5 separate regions of the Homo sapiens genome follow, and regions 1, 2, 3 and 5 are each linked to region 4. Evidence: promoter capture Hi-C in human tissues and cell types (Jung and others, 2019). All regions are on one chromosome and are shown on one strand. Each heading gives the region's core, a stretch centred on a gene start or on the middle of the fragment in contact. The rest is flanking DNA. Distances are from core to core; before and after follow the strand shown.

Region 1 (2,783 bases), core at 213-2,712, 560 kb before region 4:
AAAAAAAAAAAATTCCGGGCCAGGCGTGGTGGCTCATGCCTGTAATCCCAACACTTTGGGAGGCCGAGGTGAGCGGCTCACTAAGTCAGGAGATCGAGACCATCCTGGCTAACACGGTGAAACCCCGTCTCTACTAAAAATACAAAAAATTAGCCAGGCGTGGTGGCGGGTGCCTGTAGTCCTAGCTACTCGGGAGGCTGAGGCAGGAGAATGGCGTGAACCCGGGAGGCAGAGCTCGCAGTGAGCCAAGATCATGCCACTGCACTCCAGCCTGGGTGACAGAGCAAGACTCCGTCTCAAAAAAAAAAAAAATTCCTTTGTACCTATGTTATGGTGAATTTTCATGAAAAATTGACAGCTCAGAAAAACACTCTTCATAATTTAGAGTGTCTGCTCCTATAAGGAGCTCAGAGTTTAAATGAAATGCAGTTAAAATCCAAAAACATTTGTTTGTGTATTATGGAAAGGCATAATGATTGTCTACTGAGCAAGGGACTTTTTAGTTTTACTCTTCTAACATTTGTGTTCAAAGTACACTCATCAAATATTGGGTGAGGTACATACACTATGTAGTGATGTTCATTTTGGTTTATAATAAATTTAATTTACCAGCTTTAGGACATCCCTAATATTTTTAACTGAAAACACTTTTTTCAAATGAGTCTTACACCCTAGAGAACTGGGTACCCTGTATCTAACTAACTCTGTGTGCCCTGGGTCCACAGCACCTTGGACATACAAAATGTAGATAATCAAAACAGTGCTGGGTTAAAGCTCTCTGGGCCATGGCCTGTTCGCCATGTGACACTGAATTTTGTACGTATAAAGTTCTGAACATTTTGTTTGAACATGCCTCTTTAATACTTGCCATTTCAATTTAATTAGAGCAAATGTTCTCAGGGTTATCATCCTCCTATCAACTTCTGGGACAAAGGCATCGAAAACATTAAGATCAGAAGAAGGGGAATATGAATTGAAGTCCACAGACTTTTATTGATTACGTACTTGGGGAAAGGCCCAGGGCCACGTGTTGGAGGATGACTAAGATAACAAGCAGAGTTAACATTTATTGAGTACTTACTAGATGCTCAACACTGTAAGTAAAGTCAGAAGTGCCTTGCATGCATTGACTTATTAACTCTCACAATACTAAAACGTATCGGGTTTTGCCATCTGAGGCCTTACAATCTAGGACAGCCTTCCTCTTTCCTTTCTCCTTTTTATTTCTTGCGAACGCTATCCCGCCCCACAGAGTCAACCTGGAGGGAGAGAGGGAGGAAGGGAGTGGAAAAGGGTAAGGGAGAAGGAGAGAGGGAGAGAGAGGGAGGGAGGAAGAGAGAGAGAAAGAGAAAAAGGAAGAACAGATCTGGATTTTAAAGTCTGGCTTCATTTCAGTAGGAGGCAGACTAAACAACAATAAATTTGAATTTTTATCAAAAATTATCTTCACAGGCTTCAGAGCAGGATGCCGATCTTCTAGAATGAATGCTTCAATAAATCTGTCATTATTTTTGAATTTATTAACAAAATTGATTTTCATTTTTATCAGCATCTTAGTTTTGCTCCAGTGAACTCCTTTTCCCCTTTAAGATTCAACTGATCAAGAAGAGTGAACACCCCACCCAGAATTCTATTGTAGATACTGCAGAATTATAGCCAAAGACATATTGCAAATTATTATATATGGTAAAAAGAAAAGTACAATGAAATATTCTTCATAACCAAAAAGCAGAGATATATTGAAACATTTTGATTATTTTTTAAAAAGTAAACCCAAGGTATCATATAAGTCCTTACACAATAAATTGTGCCTTTCCTAAAAACCAAACAAGTCAATTATTTCCATCTCTTCCCTGCCCCCCAAAATAAAACCCATTACAGGGTACTTTTTGTCTTAGTATGGAGATGACAAGCAAAGCTGGCCCTGGGGGACCACAGACAGAGCGCCCTGCAGTGGGTGCAGCCTCAGCACCTCCTCCCGGCACAGGCAGGTGACAACTGAAGGATATTCTCTTCTGGAATTTCCAAGAATTCCTGGGTCAGCTACTACCCAGGAGGTCTGAAGCAAAATCCCACTGTTTAAGCAGAGAGGAAATTGGCAGGGGATTCCTTACAGCATGGAGAATTTCACTTCCATTACAGCACTGGCAATTCCCCTGTTAGTGAATTAGAGTGCTACATTTTGAGAGGACTGCTCCTATGTAGGTGACTGGCAGATGCAAATGTGTACCTAAAAACAAGGGATGTGTCACCCAAGAAGATACCGCTGGAAGGTGTTTCCCTCGGGCTATGGCCTCCATCCTCCTGCTTCAAGCAACAGTTAGCAGGGATTTGTCTGAGGTTTGAACAAAAGACCAGATGGGAATTCTTGCTGTCAGGCTGTGTCCCCAAATATGCAGGGCTGAAAGAAAAACAACTGCCTGCCTTTGGGCCAGATCTTCAGGGCCCCGTGGAATAAAAAAGGTTAGTTGCCTTCCTTTCCCTTTAATCAGTCCTGTGCTTTCTTCAGAAACCACATGCCACATTCTCTGGTCCATCTCGTTTTGAAAAGCACGAAAAGACTTTGAACTGCTCGGGGCCTGGCATTTGAACTCCGGTTCTTTCATCTCTTCCCTCAGAACTTGGCATACAACATGCCCTGCACTTTGCTCATTAATTCTGCTGACCAAGTAACAAGACTGGTGAAAGTTTTTTTTAAAAGTTCAGGCTCTACTTCACGTTCTCATCAGATGCCTGGGGAATAAACCGAGAGAGGTGTCGGGGGATCACATCTCCGTCGATGC
Region 2 (2,843 bases), core at 99-2,598, 1.0 Mb before region 4:
AAAACTGGATTCTACAGTTCCTAGGTCACGGACTTGGCTTGTCTCCAGTTGGCCTGCTTTTATAACCACCCAGTGGGTTTTTCTTGTCCACTGCCCAGATAGAGCTAATTTATGAAGGCAGGGGAATTGCAATAGAGAAAGAATTTTACACACATAGAGCCAGCTAAACAGGACACAGGAATTTATTATTACTCAAATTGGTCTCCTCAAAAATTCGAAGGCTAGGGTTTTTCAAGGATAAAGAGACGGGGGCACAGCTAGGCAATGGGTGCTTGCTGCTGATTGGTGGGGGTACAATCATAAAAGTGTGGGAAATGGTCCTCATGCACTGAGTCACTTCTGGGTGGGGTCACAGGAGCAACTAGTGGGTCCAGGTGGAGCCATCAGTGTCAGACATACAAAAAACTTGAAAAGACATCTCAAAAGCCAATCTTAGGTTCTAAAATAGTGATGTTGTCTGCAGGAGTAATTGGGAAGTAGCATATCTTGTGACCTCCGGAATAATGGCTGGCCATCGTTTATGCCTACACCTTAGCAGAATTCAGGCTCCTATCCTCCTACTAGTCTGGTGGTTTCTCATTAGCTTTGCAAAGGTGGTTAAGCTTGCGAGGAGGGTATTATCATTTATTTTTATTTCTTTATTTTTTATGTATTTATTTTTTTTGAGACAGTCTCCATCTGTCGCCCAGGCTGGAGTGCAGTGGCGTGATTTTGGCTCACTGCAACCTCTGCCTTCCGGGTTCACGCCATTCTCCTGCCTCAGCCTCCTGAGTAGCTGGGACTACAGGCGCCCAGCACCACGCCCGGCTAATTTTTGGTATTTTTAGTAGAGTCAGCGTTTCACCGTGTTAGCCAGGATGGTCTCCATCTCCTGACCTCGGGATCCGCCCACCTCGTCCTCCCAAAGTGCTGGGATTACAGGCGTGAGCCACCGTGCCCGGCAATTTAACCTATAAACTAAATGTCTCCCAAAGCTAGGTAGACCCAAGCCAAGGGATAATTAAGGGCAGTTTGAAGGCTAAAGGCAAGATGGGGGTTGGTTAAATCAGATCTCTTTCACTGCCATAATTTTCTCACTGTTACAATTTTTGCAAGGGAGGTTTCACTTTTCTCTCCTCCTCCACCTCCAAAGCTCCCTCCTCTTAAGTAGGGAGAATTCATTCGCACGTTTTTCAGAGCTCTGCACTGTAATTCATTCAGATCCAGACATTTCGGCTCATTTACAGCGGATGCATGCTCTCGCATAATCTCTACACCCATCTTGGGCTTCAATTTTCTCTTAACAATGTTCGTTCTACCCTTTTCAGTCCAAAGATCACTCTCCTTGACAGAGAAGACAGGACTAAATGGGAGGAAAGGAGTTCTGTTTTCTTCATGTCATCCATCAACATCACACCACTGGCCTCAGGCAGCGAGCCTCTTCCTTCCTTATTCTTGCTCTAAATTTAAGAGCCCTCCATTATCCTTACTTTCTTTTCTCTAAGCCTCAGCTCACTCTGGTCTTTGGCCCTTCTGATCTGTTACTGGTCCCTGCCTTTCTTCAACACAATCTTTGGCAGCGTGCCTCTTTCCACTTTTTGGCACATCTTTTTAAAATCCGAGTTTCTCAGTGGGAGTGTGCAGCCACCTTGGCTCCGAATGTCTTTTCCTTTTGTCTGCAGCATGAACAACATGTGTGATTGCAAAGATAGAATTATAATTTTGAAAGCTTACCAATTCTTTTGAGTTTCCTCTTGAGAAATAGAATTAAAACAATCTTTTCTTGAATTCATTAAAACCTGCCTTCTCCAATTGTTGAGTACCTGTCTTAGCATTCCAAGCCTCCTCCCTGCTTGGCTAGCACAAACCTTAAAACGACACACGCACTTCCTCAAAAGATTCCTTTATACCATAGAAGTGAAGTGCAGGAGGCAAAAAGATCCAATGGTTTTTTCTGACAATAGTCTCTGTAAAACATCACAAGAAACCAATTAAAGAGGATGGTAGTGAGCCTGAAATAAAAGGGAAAGTTGCTAAAGATATTGTGGTGGTAGAATTGATAATCCCTGCCAATGAATTATGCAGGGATAATTATGAGAAGGAAGGAAGACTGTTGAGGCCTGTAAGTATACATGGCCAGGTGATCTAGAAAATGGTGATAAGGTAGGAAGAAAGAAGGACCAACATTTTTAGTAATAAAGAAAGGAGTTGAGAAAGTATCTTTTCATTTAAAACTAATATAGTATTTCCCTTGCTACTCTCCTACCTTGCATTCCCATTTACCTTTTAAGAGCATTTATCCCATCAGTTTGTCTACAACCTATCCTGTGAGGTAAGGTGGAGATAAGAGATTTGTCCAAGGTTTCAACATTAGTGAATGGCAGAGCTACATTCTCATATCTTCCAGAAATCCCGTGGTTCCCCTTTCTTTTCCAAAATGCTATGGCTCATGGCATTGCTAACCATCTGCAGGGATTAAAGGACAGGCATTGCCTGTAAAGGGGCAAAGCCAGCCCTTTGGTTTGCATCAGCAGCTGCTGTTGGCGGGGTTTAGGTTTATTCATAACTGATTAGCTTAATATGATATCCTTATCCCAAGAATCTTTCTATCCTTGATTATCACACCTGGGGTTGGCCAATTAACTGGGACAAATTCCAAAACATTGAGAGAAGCTCTCTTCCAGGGTGTTTCTCCTCTCCTATATCTTGTCTCCCACTTCCAAGCAACAACCACACTAGTCTCTCTCTCTCTCTCTCTCTCCCTCTCCCTCTCTCTGTGTGTGTGTGTGTGTGTGTGTGTGTGTGTGTGTGTTCCGAGGTGAGCAGGCCTATACAAACCTACTTCCAAAGGCCAGGGAAGGTGA
Region 3 (3,037 bases), core at 26-2,525, 740 kb before region 4:
AAAGAAAAAAGAATGTCCTATGAAGCCAGGCACAGTGGCTCATGCCTGTAATCCCAGCACTTTGGGAGGCTGAGGCGGGTGGATCGCTTGAGGTTGGGAGTTCGAGACCAGCCTGGCCAACATGGTAAAACCCCAACTCTACTAAAAAATACAAAGAATTAGCTGGGCATGGTAGCGGGAGCCTATAGTCCCAGCTGGTAGGGAGGCTGAGGCAGGAGAATCGCTTGAACCCAGAAGGTGGAGGTTGCAGTGAGCCAAGATCGCGCCATCGCACTCCAGCCTGGGCAACAAGAGTGAAACTCAGTCTCAAAAAAAAAAAAAAAAAAAAAGAATGTCCTATGAAATATTTGGCACATAAATACAGGATGCCCAGGTAAATTTAAATTTCACATAAACTATGTACAGTTTATTTTATTTATTTTATTTTATTTTTTTGAGACAAGGTCTCTCTCTGTCACCCAGGCTGGAGTGCAGTGGCACGATCTCGGCTCACTGCAACCTCCACCTCCTGGGTTCAAGCGATTCTCTTGCCTCAGCCTCCTGAGCAGCTGGGACTACAGGTGCATGCCACCACACCCAGCTAATTTTTGCATTTTTAGTAGAGATGGGGTTTCACCATGTTGGCCAGGCTGGTCTTGAACTCTTGACTTCAAGTGATCCGCCCACCTCAGCCTCCCAAAGTGCTGGGATTACAGGCATGAGCCACCGCACCCAGCCAAACAATGTGCAATTTTTAAGTATAATTACATCTTGCAATATTTGGGATGTAGTTATGCTAAAAAAAATTCATCACTCATTTGAAATTCAAATTTAACTGGACATGCTGTATTTTTATTTGCTAAGTCTGGCCATCAGTATGTGATGCTGAATAAATGCTACTTACCAGTGCTGTGAACTCCAGGGCAGAGCTCCCTCCTGTTACACTAACTAGCCTGGAGAGTTCCGCCACCAGAGAGCCAATTTCTCGGCCGCCTTTGGGTGCTGACTCAGCTCTCTGATGACCCAAGTTTATGAGTTACCTGTGAGAATATCTGGGCCCCCAGTTTTCTCAAGAGTCAGCCCCAGATCCCCAATTCTGCCTCTCAAAATCGAGGAATAGGAGCCCTGGCTTTTTCCAGCAGCAGCTGGAATCAATAAGCAGCCCTGATGTGTGGGGTGGGCTGGAACACAGCCTGCTACCTTGAGCCCTGCAGTATTGATCGCACAGGCAGCTGTCTGTAAACCAAGCAGGCATGCTGAAATGGGGTAGTGTTGTCAGCCTTCACTTTCATAGGGATGACTCTTCAGATTTCTCTCAAAGCCTGTCGGGCTCAAAGGGAAAACCAGCAAGTTCTTTTTTTTCACTAATGTAATGCCTTGGGGAGCTGCCGCATTACATTCTTTTTTTCTTTTTTCTTTTTTAGTGCAAAGTTGTGGGGGTGGAAGGCAGAAACCACAACAATCCTCTCTCTTTTGGGACTCTCTCTCTTAAATGTGGTCCATCATTCAGTTTTAATAACTGAAGCACAAAATATGAAAACTAAAAAAAGTCATTTTTTATCGAAAGCCTCAAATGTACTGGGCATGAGAGCGAGCAGTTTGTATGTCTTGTGGTGTTTTATGCTTCTAATGATTCTCTGAGATTGATATTTATTACTATTCCCATTTTACAGATTCAGAAATGGAGGCTCACCCAGGCTAAGTAATTTGCTCAGGGCCGTGCGTCCCGCAGTGAGTCTGCTATGGTCGAAACCCAGGTCTGTTTGACATCTAACACTACTGTCTGCTCAATGAGCCCAAGACATTGCAAACACTGCTGGCTTGTCATCCTAGCTTGTCCTTTTAGATTCCTGAGTGATGAACATCCTCTGAGAAACTGTCCCTGGTTGCTCTGAAAAAAGCCGGGTACCTCCCTCTGCTCTCAGATGACTTTCTTCCCACCTGTGTGTTGTAGAACCTCCCTGTGGGGCTGTAAAAACACATCCACCTTTCTGTGTCCTCATTAATCCACAAGGTCCTCCAGGGCAGCGGCAAAATTGTTTTTCTACCAAGTGTGCTCCTCTCTAGCTGCAGGGACTAGACTATCGTTTAGCACACAAGCTCTATAAATATCTGCTCGTGGTTATTACTGTTTTGAAATCTCTTTTCCCATTTGTTTAGGGAGCTTCAAGGATGCTGTCCTGTCACCATGTTTCATTGTGATGCCGGTCTTCTGCGTTCTTACCTATGTTTTTTACACCGAATTTTGTATTGGCCTGTCCTCATTGAGGACTCATCTGGCTGGTCCATACCAATATTAACAGAAAGTTCTTCCATGGTTGAATGACTGAACAAGTATGGTTGCCATGATGACTATATTTGCACAAATCCAAGTTGGTCTTCTCAATGGTTCTTCCTATAATTTGGTAGAAGGGTATAGAGGTAAATGAACCCAATGGGTAGCCAAATTCCTGCACCTGGGATCTCAAGGTCAATGTTTTTTTTTATCACAGTGATATAGGGTGTCTCTTGGAGACTCAAGAGAAAGAGGGTTGTCAATGAGAGAGGGTAAAAGATGACAGAGTGGCTTTGATCCTACCTTCTCACAAAAGCTTCTTAGAAAAGTCAACCTACTTTTGAGAGGAGCACAGGTTCTCACAAAACCCCTTCCAGGAAGTAGAGAAGCAAACTTTGCCATGATTCTGCTACCAGGAGTAAACATGTGATCCCACATGTACTCTGCCCCTTCAGGGATGAAAGAGCTATGAAGCTGATGGTTGATCCTCAGGGACAGACATTGGCTGAGAGGACTTGATGGATTTCAGATCTGCCCACCTGAAGCCCAAACGCTGAGGAAGTCTCTAAATGGGGATTATAGCATTTAAACATTTTTTATCTTTATGTTCTTCTGCAGGTCTGAGGCCCTTCAGACTAACAGTGATCCCCCTGTCACATTAATTCTTCTCACATAGACTGTTTTTCTTATAGGTCCTATCTGGGGCAAAGATGACTATGACAGAAATCTCAGCTTGTTCTTGCTGACAGAGTTAAATTTGGTCTGTGTTTGCTCTGCACAAGA
Region 4 (2,929 bases), core at 316-2,815:
AAAACCTTTGTAACTAAAAGACCTCTGTTTTGCTTGAGGTATTAAGCTGGTGCAAAAGTAATTGTGGTCTTTGTCAATGGCAAAAACCGCAATTACCTTTGCACCAATCTAATGATATTTAACATAAACAAACTCAGGGCAGAGTGCACCTTCTGATTGGGTGTACCATCTACCGCTCGGGGCTCTTTAACAAATGACCAAAGAAAACATGAATTTTGACATAACTGGTGCTAGGGTTATTGAAGGGTGGGTTTCCATTCTGGGTTAGTGCTCCCAGTCTCTAGTCAAGCACAAGAACATGCCTACCCCAGAGGGCTCTTCCAAATTCCCAGCTATCTGAGATTATGAGACAAAGGTTCTTTAGCGCCTACCAAATGAGCAACAATGAAGATAAAAGGGACCTCTCCTTCCATCATAACCAGTTCCCCAGGAAGCACCATTTCTCTTACTCTTGGAAGGTCGGATATTTTTTCCCTTTACCATACACTGGCCTTCCATGTCCTAACTGCTATTTTCAAATAAATGAACGTTATATTCTTGGAGGACAGATCAGGGATGCTAAACTGCACCTTTATCATGATTTTAGGGATGAGCGCCTTTTACTTAAGTCCTGCTAGTGGCACATATTTTAAAAGGCCATAGAGGACATCCGTGTTGTCAACACAAGTGAAGGCGCTCGGAAGAGTGTTGGTCAGCAAGAATCAGCACAAAGACATTGGAGGAGAGACAACAGCTTGTTTCTGGAAACAAATGAACAACAAAAAAACACTAAAACATCTCGAGGGGGCCCCTGACTTGAGCCCTGCATGGGAAAAGCTGCCAAGAGCTAGCATGACAAGGGACTGGCCCTGGGCTGCGGTGAGGAAACCCAGCGTCCTGACCACACTGCTGGGTCAGCGAGGCGTCCCTCAGAGACCGGAAACGCGGACTTCAGCTCGCTTGGGAAACGGCTTCCATTAGCAGAAGGGAGACTGCGGTTTAGTCCCGAGGTCGCTCCAGCAGCCCGGCCTCACGCGACCCACCATTCCCGCCGCCCCCTCACGGTGCCCGCCGTTCCCGCCGCCCGGCTTTCTAACCGGGCCCCTAGTTCCCCGCCCCGTGCCCTCTGGAGACCTGCAGCTCCTGCCGCCCTGCGCCCGCTCCCAGGGCCCGTCGTTCCGCCGCCCTATCCCTCCTCAAGGGGCCCCTAGCTGCCTCCTCGCGACCCTTTCCGGACTCGGCCTGCCCACTCCTGCCCGCTAACCCGCCTGGCTCCCGGGCGAGAGCCCTCGCGCGGCTCTGGTTCCTGTTCCTCTAACGCCGCCGGGGCTGCGGGATGCCGACTCCGCGGACCGCCCAGACCCGGAACTGCTGAGGCAGCAGCGGGCTCGCGGCGCTTGGCTCATCCCGGGATTCCCCAGCTCTCGCGCTGGGCCCGCCGCGTTCGCACCAAGCACGCCAGGCGGCCCTGGCCTACCTCCCTCCCGCCTCCCGGCAGCTGGCACGAGGGAACCTGGCCGTCAGGTTTCCCCTGGGATCCTGGGACGGTATCAGGCGGGGAATCTGTGCGGCCGCGGCGAGGTAGGTGAGGTGAGGCGGGGCGAGGTGGGCGAGGGGGGCGAGGTGAGGCGGGGCGAGGCGGGGCGAGGCGAGGCGGGGCGAGGTGGGCGAGGTGGGCGAGGTGAGGCGGGGCGGGTGTCGTCGCGCTGGGCCGAGCTTACGACTCCAGCTGACCCGCTCGCGGCTGCCCAATTTCGTTGAGGCTCAGGACGAGGGACGGGGCGGCAAATTGTCACAGAGGTCGCCGTAGACCGGTGTGCAACCGAAGGTGAAGAGCGGGAAGGCGAGGACCGAATCGCCTCTGGTGTGCGTTGTCCGACAGGAAGTCCCGAATGGGCTGTGAGCCGCCGGTGGAGGTGCCCGGGCAGGTGCAGAGCCACAGCCTGCGCCCCGTGAGCCGAGGCGGGTAGGAGGAACAGGGACCTGGCGGCGACACACGTTGGGCGGAAATTCACAATGAACAGGGAAGGGGGGACGGTCACCCACTCAAAACTGGCTAAATGAACCTCAGAGGGAGCCCCGAGAGATGGGGAGCAAAGGTTAGGGGAAGCGGCAGGAGAAAACCTTCTTGGGGCAAAGGGCGTCACCAAAGGGGGTCACCGGAGCCCCGCAGGTTGGGGTGGGAGGGCTGGGCTGGAGGTGAGCAAAGCTGCACGGGGAGAATGAATTAAGAAAGTTGAGAGGAAGCCTGTCTCATCCAAATCACTATAGCTTTTGTGGTCATTGCTAAGTGTGGAGTACTGCGCAAATCCTGAAGGGAACTCTATTAGCCATCTCAGCTTTTATCATCTTAAAACGCGAATTTCGCGTGCAGCTCCATTTAGCTTCGTAAACTTAAGCCCCCGCATATGAAAGGATGAGACCTAATATGACAATCATGTCAGGACTAATGATATATCACACAGGTTGACACTCTGCAATTTAAAAACAGGACTTTGTCTAAACTCCACAAGTAATTCCTTACTCAAAAGTTCTGTGTAAACAAAACAGAGGAACTGTCGTGCTGCTGGAAAGATGTACCAGCATTTTCACAAAACGAATTAAAAGATGGCTTTGCTTTCACTGTCATGGTTCTGTTGTGACAGAGTAGACTGGCTTTTCTGGGAGGGGCCTAGATTTACTATTTTAGTTACATTTTAAAATCAGTGTAATTACTTCGTTTTTAATCTACCACAAATTTCTGTTGTAACTATAAGATTTATATAATCTTATATTCTTACACTAATTTTTATTTGCAGGTGATTTATTTGGCATAAAAGTATTCTTTCAAGGATGGCAGAAGCTGTTTTGATTGATCTTTTTGGTTTGAAATTGAACTCTCAAAAAAACTGCCATCAGACATTACTGAAGACTTTGAATGCTGTCCAATACCACCATGCTGCCAAGGCCA
Region 5 (2,906 bases), core at 237-2,736, 580 kb before region 4:
GGATGTTACAGAGCAGTCAATATGGATGGGGGAATTAAAAAAAATTGACTCTATATATTTTAACTTTCCATCATTCTACTTATATTTCCCTTGTTTAAATAAAAACAATCTTTTTTTTTTCAGAAAATATTGATTGGATTTGTATATTCAGAGGGATAATTTAAAAATACCCATGATGATAATATATGCTCTGTTATTCTAAGGTAACTCAAAGGCCCAAACACCTTAAGAATATCAGGTACCAATTGACGTTTTCAGATACAAATCTGACTGTGAATCTTTGACTCTATTCCCTCACTGCCAACAGTCAGATTTTCCCCTCCTGTCGACATTTTATATCCCACAGTACCTGTTCCTTTTCCCTACTCCAAAGCCCTCAACTTTCATTTCCTTTTTAACAATTGCCATAAATATACATCTTTAAATTCAGTATGCCAGGATGAGGTCTGGCACTCTTCAACAAAAACACAGCTATTGCCCTGTTTCTAAAGTTATTTATCCCCCAAAACTCTGATGCTTCATGTATTCCATCAACAAACACTTCTTAAACACGTAATGTGCTCAAAGAACCTGACTAGATCCTAAGTGTAATACAGAAAAAGTGGAAACAATATAATTTACATTTACACTAACCTTGAAGACAGACAAACAAACTGCTTTTGTAAAATCAGTTGTCGTGCTTTGAAGTTAAAAGTTCTAAGATTACAAAATGCTTGTATCATGCAGGGATCTGCTAGGTATTTGCCATGGGGCTATATTTCACATGCAGCCTTTCAATCTCCTAAATCCAAATCATTTTCCTTTATTTCCTACCTCCAGGGTGATTTCTTCAACATATTTTATTGGCTTGGCTTTTCTCCAGATTCTACCCTTCCACAAACAGTCATTAGCACTTTTCTGTCCTAGTAACATAGCTTTTTGGTTGTCATTTCTTCTCCTTCACCCTTTCCAGCACACGGCTGCCTTTCCATTTTCATTTAATACACATATCTCTTTCTCTCAAAAAAAAAAAAAAAATCTGGGCCAGGTACCTGCTGCATGCCTTGCATGGTTTGCTGCAGAAACTGCAGTTGCTGGTCCTTGGTGAGGTTTTCTTCTGTTCGGAAAAGCTGTTCTTTTTCTTGTTTCAGCAGCTCCACCTCATTCCTGTAGGCATCCAGCTGCCAGCGGAGACTGTCATTCTCCTCTTTCAGAGCGTAGGCCTGGGCAGCCAGGGCTGAGGGACAAACAGAACGAGTTCAGGTGAGCTACCTTCTTGCTTAGCTTGAGGAGGCCTTCTGTGGGAAAGGGAGTCTGTCACCCAAGTTCTTAATGTTTGTACCAGCTCAGAAATAAAAGCAAAATGCCACTCCCTGGGCCTCTCTTTTGTAGTCGGTATGCATCACTTCTCTCGGAACTTTTATCTATTCTGTTTGTCCTGTCTTACATGTGAATGTTTCTTATGGGCACAGGATTAATTCCTCCCAAATTCTCATCCCTTGACCTCTCCCTCAATGCTAGACACCCTCACAGACATTGGTATGTGGTGCTAGGTGGTGACAACATTTAGAATTCCAGGCAACAATCATATCTACTAAATATTGTCTTCCCCCTTTCTACGGGATTGCTTAGCTACTTGGAGGGCTGCTTGCTTTCAAATAATCAGCAGTTCCACAGGTTGAGACATGCGGCAGCATCCCAGGGGAGAGAGGAAATTATATGCACACCACTCCTTCCTGCTCTACTGCTGGGACAAATTGCACAGATTGTTTTCCTCCAACTCCTATCAGAATGGGAAGCTAGTTCCATCTGTTTCACCAACAGATTAAAACTCTTTTCCTCTACAAGGCTGAGTGGTTACTCTAATACCTCTCCCTGAAACCCCAAATTCTCCACATTTAGATTCAGACTTCATTCATATGTCTATCTTATTAAGAAACCAAGACAGTTAACTCAGGGTCTCACACATCTCAAGGCTTCAGAAATAGCCGAAACTGAAAAAGAAACAAATGGTACCAAACAAAGATTGAGGGTAGGGAAATCCCTTTCCCTAGTTTCTACCTTATTGCTTAGGGGTCTCTCCGAAAATCAACATAGCCTGCTGAGCACTCATAAAGCACTGGATCAAGAGCTTTGTATGAACTCACTCACTTCATACCCCCACCAAGCCTGTGATGCCGGTGCTGGTCTTATGCTCATCTTTACAGATGAGAAAAATGTGGCACAGAGAAGTTATGTAACTCATCCAATCCCACAAAGTAAGTAGCAGAAAGCCTTCACACCCAGGCTGCAGGCTCCAGAGTCTCTGCTCTCGATTACCATCGGTCCATGTGTTTAGTTCTTACCAGGCTGTTCAAAACCAGTCTCACATTCCCCCACCAACTCTCCCACCACTCTCCCTTTAATCTTCCCCCTCACAGAAAAGCCATTCCCCACTTGTGTAAGCAAGAGAAAAGTGAAAGAAAATTTGAAACGCTTGTTACCAGAAACTTCAAACATGTAACTTCCAGTAGATAAGGGCACGGTGTGGAGCCCACTGCACACCAGGTCGTCAGTGCATGCGCGTTTCCAGCCCCCGCTCCCCGTGTCAGAGGACCAAATCAAGGTCGCCTCCTGAGTGTTCTACCTGCACATTACAGTTCCATGGTGATAAAGCTTTACTGAGGTTCTCTGAGACCACAGTGAATTCTCTCCTCAAATATCAAATGTCAAATTATGTTAATAATAGTTTTATAGTTGAGTGTTTTACAGTACTCCATCTTGCAAAATGATAATCTCTGTGTAGTACACACTGAACTACTAATCAGACAGAACATGCAATTACCCAGAAATTTCCCTACCTCAAGCCAGTAGGGATCAATTACTTAACACGCATTTACTTCATATTTACTGTGCTCAGGTCCGTGAGGGCATCTCAGACCACAAAA

Evidence for each region. Contacts are between HindIII fragments. The study calls those that stand out against the background at their distance.
Region 1: a fragment that was not itself captured here is called in contact with the fragment with the promoter of CCDC122 in region 4 in 1 of the 25 tissues and cell types used here (dorsolateral prefrontal cortex).
Region 2: a contact is called between a fragment that was not itself captured here and the fragment with the promoter of CCDC122 in region 4, in 1 of the 25 tissues and cell types used here (dorsolateral prefrontal cortex).
Region 3: a fragment that was not itself captured here is called in contact with the fragment with the promoter of CCDC122 in region 4 in 2 of the 25 tissues and cell types used here (dorsolateral prefrontal cortex and lymphoblastoid cells).
Region 5: a contact is called between a fragment that was not itself captured here and the fragment with the promoter of CCDC122 in region 4, in 1 of the 25 tissues and cell types used here (stomach).

What each region holds. Positions count from the first base shown.
Region 1 is chr13:43,317,707-43,320,489 of GRCh38, forward strand. All of the region lies in intron 11 of ENOX1 (ecto-NOX disulfide-thiol exchanger 1), which reads right to left. Among named protein-coding and RNA genes, the nearest start is that of ENOX1-AS2, 130 kb to the right of the region's middle. The HindIII fragment of the contact is 4,463 bases long and covers 1-2,783 here.
Region 2 is chr13:42,878,854-42,881,696 of GRCh38, forward strand. No RefSeq gene overlaps it. Among named protein-coding and RNA genes, the nearest start is that of LINC00428, 7.5 kb to the left of the region's middle. The HindIII fragment of the contact is 3,282 bases long and covers 1-2,843 here.
Region 3 is chr13:43,136,170-43,139,206 of GRCh38, forward strand. All of the region lies in intron 1 of LINC00400 (long intergenic non-protein coding RNA 400), which reads left to right. Among named protein-coding and RNA genes, the nearest start is that of LINC00400, 25 kb to the left of the region's middle. The HindIII fragment of the contact is 5,587 bases long and covers 1-3,037 here.
Region 4 is chr13:43,878,175-43,881,103 of GRCh38, forward strand. It overlaps CCDC122 (coiled-coil domain containing 122), which reads right to left and starts at 1,566. Exons shown (of 7, transcript NM_144974.5): 1 at 1,457-1,566. LACC1 (laccase domain containing 1) reads left to right here and starts at 1,730. Exons shown (of 7, transcript NM_153218.4): 1 at 1,730-1,945; 2 at 2,778-2,929. The coding sequence starts at 2,812. RefSeq lists a silencer at 1,468-1,617. The HindIII fragment of the contact is 6,836 bases long and covers 1-2,929 here.
Region 5 is chr13:43,297,315-43,300,220 of GRCh38, forward strand. ENOX1 (ecto-NOX disulfide-thiol exchanger 1) reads right to left here. Exons shown (of 17, transcript NM_001347969.2): 12 at 1,032-1,216. Among named protein-coding and RNA genes, the nearest start is that of ENOX1-AS2, 150 kb to the right of the region's middle. The HindIII fragment of the contact is 4,025 bases long and covers 1-2,906 here.